Regions from separate parts of the Homo sapiens genome. Here region 1 is linked to region 2. The links are contacts of gene promoters, found by promoter capture Hi-C in human tissues and cell types (Jung and others, 2019). All regions are on one chromosome and are shown on one strand. Each heading gives the region's core, a stretch centred on a gene start or on the middle of the fragment in contact. The rest is flanking DNA. Distances are from core to core; before and after follow the strand shown.

The links. Contacts are between HindIII fragments. The study calls those that stand out against the background at their distance.
Region 1: a fragment that was not itself captured here is called in contact with the fragment with the promoter of NYAP2 in region 2 in 1 of the 25 tissues and cell types used here (H1 embryonic stem cells).

What each region holds. Positions count from the first base shown.
Region 1 is chr2:225,116,085-225,119,161 of GRCh38, forward strand. No RefSeq gene overlaps it. Among named protein-coding and RNA genes, the nearest start is that of DOCK10, 75 kb to the left of the region's middle. The HindIII fragment of the contact is 3,722 bases long and covers 1-3,077 here.
Region 2 is chr2:225,398,161-225,401,214 of GRCh38, forward strand. It overlaps NYAP2 (neuronal tyrosine-phosphorylated phosphoinositide-3-kinase adaptor 2), which reads left to right and starts at 1,550. Exons shown (of 8, transcript NM_001371273.1): 1 at 1,550-2,095; 2 at 2,401-2,883. The HindIII fragment of the contact is 4,626 bases long and covers 1-3,054 here.

The sequences.
Region 1 (3,077 bases), core at 551-3,050, 280 kb before region 2:
CTTACACTTGATCTTTGTCTTAGAGTATACTTTTGGGACAACACAAACTAGAAAAACCTCACATTCAAGAAAGATCCCTAGTTCGTTTTCCCATTCGATCTTTTTTGCTATCCCTTTGGTCATTGCTCTAACAAGAACAAGAATCTCCAACATATTAATATCTGCTTAAACGTCTTTGCCTCTCTGAAGCTTTCCCAAAAGTTGTTGTCTTCAGAGCTGGTTGTGTAGGTCTATAACAACGTTCACCCATTCCATTTCTTCATGTTTCTCAAAGTGCCTTCCTATGAGTGCCTAAAAGTTGATGAAAAGAGAGCGCTCAAAGAGCAAAGAAGAGGATTCTTTTGTTCAGGTCAGGCATGGCTCGGGCCAAGTTTATCCTTGGAGTATTAATCTGAATGCTCTAGTTAGTCAATGATATCAGCTACAGATAATGAAATTTGCCTCCTCCCTTCCAACATGTATAGGATTATTTTATTTCTAATTGCAGAGGCCAGTCTTTAATTAATTCCAAATATTCTCCAGGAGTACGTAAACAAAAATGCTTCTACTCTTTCAACATTTAGTTCTGAAACCCACCTTTTATTGCTTGCTCCTACAAGAATCTAATGCCACTGCTGATCTGACAGGAGGCAGAGCTCAGGCAGTAATGTTCACTGGCCTGCAGCTTACCCCCTTCTGTACCATGCCAGTCCATGGCCAGGGATTTAGGGACCCCTGATATACAGAGTGACGAGCACCCCAGTGAATGTGTGCCTGCTGTGACGAGTGAACATGCAAGTGTGAAGACCTTGCACAAGCAGTTGAGAAAGAAAAAGCAAACTACTGAAATGTGGAGGATTTGCACACTCCTTCCATTTCTTCTAATCACCATTGTTCTCTCTGGTATGAACTTGGTCAAGCAGTGGCATGAGTTCCATAAAACTGCATAGTGACCTCTCTGGCAAATCTATTAAAATTGTCCAGATCAAGCCCAAAAATGATAATTACCTAATTAACTTATTTTTGTTAAGAAAGAGAAGCCAAAAAGTCAAGTGACACCATTTAAGGTTTCATTTCTCCTTGCAAAACCAAGCACAAGTCACATGATTGCCTGGAAGCTGATACAACTGCCTTCAAAGTTAACAACAAATATCAAATATGCTTAGAGAGAAAATGGCCCTGTTGGGCAGTGTGCAGTGGAATGGTGACAACAGTCACCTGTGCATACCAGCAGGTATTTCCCTTTTGTGGTGCACCAAATCATCAGTTGGAAGAGAATGCTTTTACCCTTGGCAAATGCAGACTACATATATGAGCAAGAAGGGCTCTGTGAAATTTTTTTTCCCCAAAACAATTGTTTAGTGAGTCCTGATATTCTGTAAGAAGTGCACTGGCATCAGTTTCAACTAGCTGTGAGTGCCAAGCCACACACTTTATTTGGAGAGCACCCTTGGCAGTCAGTAATATATGACTTCATCTTGAGTTAGGGTTGAGGAAAGTGGACAACTGCGGACAGGATCGACATGTAGTCACAGTGCACTGTGTGATAAAAGCATATTTTGTCCTAGTGAAATTCACTACATATTAAGGAGAGGGAGCATGATAGAAATTTATAGCATTGGATGAAGCATAATTATTTTTCATGGCACTAATATTACAAGTAAAATCCATTTCTGTGATTTCAAGTGGGAAATCTCCATTCTGAATTTGTAATCTTGAACAGCATGAATACTGTGTAGGATGCATGCAGGGAATACATATCACTTTTTAAAATAGCAAGTCTAAGTAGCTGAAATCATAACACAAATGGCTTTGACTCTTTTCTAATGCTGGGTGATTTTGTTTTCACTTGTTAGAGAAAGACTCAATGGCACATAGGTATAAGTAAACTGCCTGCAAACAGATCTACAGAAAATAGCAATATTTTACAGAATCAAGTTAAACCCAGAAATGGACTCATAATCCAATCACTGCTATTCACAAATTGAAACATTCATCCTCCCACTTTGGGGTCATGTTCTGCTCACAGGACAGACTGTATGGTGAGGAGCTGTTCAGAGTAAAGTCTTAGTCTATCATAGTACCTATGATAAAGTGTTTCTGTGAAGATTAAATAAGCTTATACATGTGAAGTGCTTAGAAATTTCCCCACATCAATGATGTTAGCTGTTTTTAATATTGTTACTCTACTTAGGCTGAGCATGGTGGCTCACGCCTGTAATCCCAGCACTTTGGGAGGCCGAGGTGGGTGGATCACGAGGTCAGGAGATTGAGACCATCCTGGCTAACATGGTGAGACCCCGTCTCCACTAAAAAATACAAAAAATTAGCCGGGCTTGGTAGCGGGCGCCTGTAGTACCAGCTACTTGGGAGGCTGAGGCAGGAGAATGGTGTGAACCCGGGAGGCAGAGCTTGCAGTGAGCCAAGATCACACCACTGCACTACAGCCTGGGCGACATATATATATATATATATTTATGTATATATAAATATATGTATATAAAAATATATATATATTTGTATATATAAATATATGTATATAAAAATATATATATTTATGTATATATAAATATATGTATATAAAAATATATATACATATATATATAGCTGTATATATGTATATTTACTGTACCTATTCAGACAGGGAAGAGAACATAGTTTTCAGTGAAAAATTCCTTCTTCATTTTAGAGGCTTAATTCAATTCAAATACTCAAAGCTATTTTAGAGCCACCAAACTTTTGTGTTTTGCAGGTTTCTTTTTTTTTTTTTTTTTCTGAGGCAGAGTCTTGCCCTGTCACCCAGGCTGGAGTGCAGTGGCGCAATCTCAGCTTACTGCAACCTCTGCCTCCTGAGTTCAAATGGTTCTCATGTCTCAGCCTCCTGATTAGCCAGGATTACGGGTGCATGCCACCATGCTGAGCTAATTTTTGTATTTTTTAGTAGAGATGGGGTTTCACCATATTGGCCAGCCTAGTCTGAAGCTCCTGGCCTCATGTGATCTGCAACTGCCTCGGCCTCCCAAAATGCGTAGTGAACCACTATGCCTGGGTGAACCACTAAACTTTTGTTTGCAGGTTCTGATTACCTAATTAAGAGG
Region 2 (3,054 bases), core at 300-2,799:
TCAAGGGGACTGAGAACCACTGTACTGGCCAAAGATGAGGAGACCTGCAGTCAGCCCAGGGACCTTGGGTCTTAATCCTAATGAGGCAATTAAGTAAGTCAGAAACAAGTAAGTCTGTTTACTTATCTTGGTAGTATTTTTCTTACATATAGAAATGGGCTTTACACTAGAGCTTATTCAAGCTCTCCATAGTTCAAAATATAGACCCCCAGACTGGCAAAATTATCAGTCATGATAAAGTGTTTCCGTTTTCTAAAATGTCTGTCAATAATTTTTTTTTTGTAAAGAACTTTTTCCACCTTTGGTCATGTGCTGAAAGACAACATCTATGAGAACACTTCACTACCAAAATAATGGCACATTAGTAAACCTCTTGATCACAGTGTGGTGGCTGTTACTAGTTTATAAGTGGTGCTTGAGGCACTTTTCAGCAATGTGCTAAGTATTTAGAACCTTCATAAGGCAGAGAGAGAGAGAGAGAGAGGGAAAGGGAGAGCATTGGGATAGGGGGAAGAGAATATGAGAGAGGTCTGGCCTCTTCTCTTCCCCGTTTGTATTTCTCCTCCTTTTCATCTATCTAATCTTGCAGAATCCTTCTTAAAATTAAACAGATGTCCTGTTCTAACCAAAAGCTAGATACACAAAGACCAAGAAATAAGTGATGAGCTTCAGGAATGCACTTCAGGACATGTAAAATAGAAAAGCTTTATAGTAATGTAATGTGTTGATTTTATTTTTCCCCAGATACTTACAAGTTAAAGAAATATAATTTAAGAAAATTACAGCACAGTCTCAGGTGACATTTAAGAATTAGACAGGTGAACTTGTTTATTTTTGTGGTCTGTCAATGCATTAAAAACTAAATTCAGAAAACTATTTTCTAAGACTTTGGTTATGAATATAGACGTTAAAAAACACTCTTGGGAAAACCAACCTGCAAGTGAAGGTCATTTACAGTGAGTTACTGAAAAAGAATGTGAGGGGAAAAATCTATAGGTCACTATCAAGTAATAAGCACATCCCCTCCCATCAAAATTGCTTTTTAAGCTCATATCCATCAGAAACATATTATATATTATTCCTTTTATCATAGTGCAAAATTAATAGATTAAAACATGTACATTTTAGTTTTTACTGAGGAGGAGCCAGTATGAGAAAAACTTTGAGCTTAATAAATACAAATACACACAAACACACATATATAAGTTGTGGTATATAATGTGATATATATGTATATATTCAGTAGAGTATTAAGAACAGAATGAGGAGAGTCTTTGGGAAATATCAGAAATAGAATGACTTTAATTTTAACAATGAGTCTATAGGAATTAATGACATACATATCATAATTATTTTGCATCTTATTTTAGTTAAAAAAATGTGCAGTCCGAGTAAGACCTTTGTTCCACACACGTGTGTGCTGTGCATATTCTTTCTAAGTGGACTAGTTTTGTTCTCATGCCATGGGAGCAGGTGGCATGAAGCTGTTTTGATGAGGTTAAAAGGCTCCTCCCCTCTCTCCCCAAGCAGCAGCCTGAAGTACGTCAGCAGTAATTGTGTGCATGGCTCGGCTGTGCAGGGAGGGTGGAGGCAAAATTGATATCAAATAAGGGTATCAAACTGAGATCTAGATGTTCCATTTAAGTTGTTGTTCATTTTCATTAGCCACGCCAGGGGTGAAATGCTTATAACTTAACCATTCTCTGTAGTAAGAACATTTGTTTTCAATGGATTTATATTTTTCCTCTCCATAAAGACTGAATTAGTGCTATAGTGAATATAAATGAAGGGTGTTTCTTTACCCTCTTTTCCTTTTATTATTTACTAATCAGACTTCAGCTCAGTTAGATAAAAGAGAGAGGTTCTGTTGCCTAGATGTGAGGCCTTTAATGAGGATGGGAGCCCCCAGGGAGCCGAAATCCAAAGTAGAACGATGCCGCTTTCCGGTTTCTTGCAATTTCTTCAGTTGCTTCTCCCTTTTCCAATGGGCCTAGTGAGCAGGAACTATCCAAGGTGCTAGAACGCTGGCAGCCTTGCCGTTCAATGCAGACGGATTGCAGAAACAGAGAAGAAAGATTACTGCTTATTTCAGAAGGTAGGTTCTTTGTTTCAGAATCCCTGATTAATCAGCAGCAGCTTCAACAGACTAAGGCAGCTGGAGAGGAGAAAGAGAAGCAGGAAGGGAGGGAGTCAGGGGCAGGGAGGGAGGGAGGGAGTGGAGGGAGAGAGAATGAGAGAGAGAGAGCTGGTTGTCACGGGGGAGGGACTATGCCACAAGCTGGGCTGCTCCAAACCTTCTGTATGTAAGTGGCAATGAGAAAGAGCATCTTTTTGGCTGAAAGGAGACATTTAGAAAGGATGTTTCTGATTTTTTGTTTTCATTTATTTTTGTCTTCGCAGAATATAATCAAATGAGGTACATTAGCCAGCTTGGTGATTGCTTCTGGTCCTGTAATCATCTGTGTAGCAAAGTGGGTAAAATCATTCAATTTCTTCCCTGCTGGACCTGGAAGGAGAGGGGCTGTGTGTTCATCCCCACCCATTAGCTATGCCCTCTTTTCTCCGAATGTCGATTTAAGGAAGCAAGCACCTGTCTTCCGCCACTGCATCTTCCTAGCAAACTTTAAAGGCCATTTTATCTGATAGGAAGGACATCGAGAATGCTCTGATCTAGTGATGAAGAATCTGGGAGTCGACACTTTTCCCATCCAGACACAATGCACTTTAATTGAAGAAACACTGAGCTGAACTACAAGTCTATTTCTTATGGTGCTGGATTACTCCTACAGAACTGCCCTGAGATCAACCGTGAGAGAGGGCTCTGACAGACACAAGTCACCTTCTGGTTATTGCACTTAGCTCTCCCTGGGGACTTAAATTTTGGTATGTATCTCATTTTTCAGATTCTCTAAGCATGCTAATCGAATCCAGCACTGAATAGATCAAGCAATCTGGTGATAAAATGGAATGGATTTTAGTTAGGGATACTTAATGCTGAAGTTTGCATGCCTTATTAGGTGGAGCAGAAATAAAGCCACAGTGAAGGCATCCAGG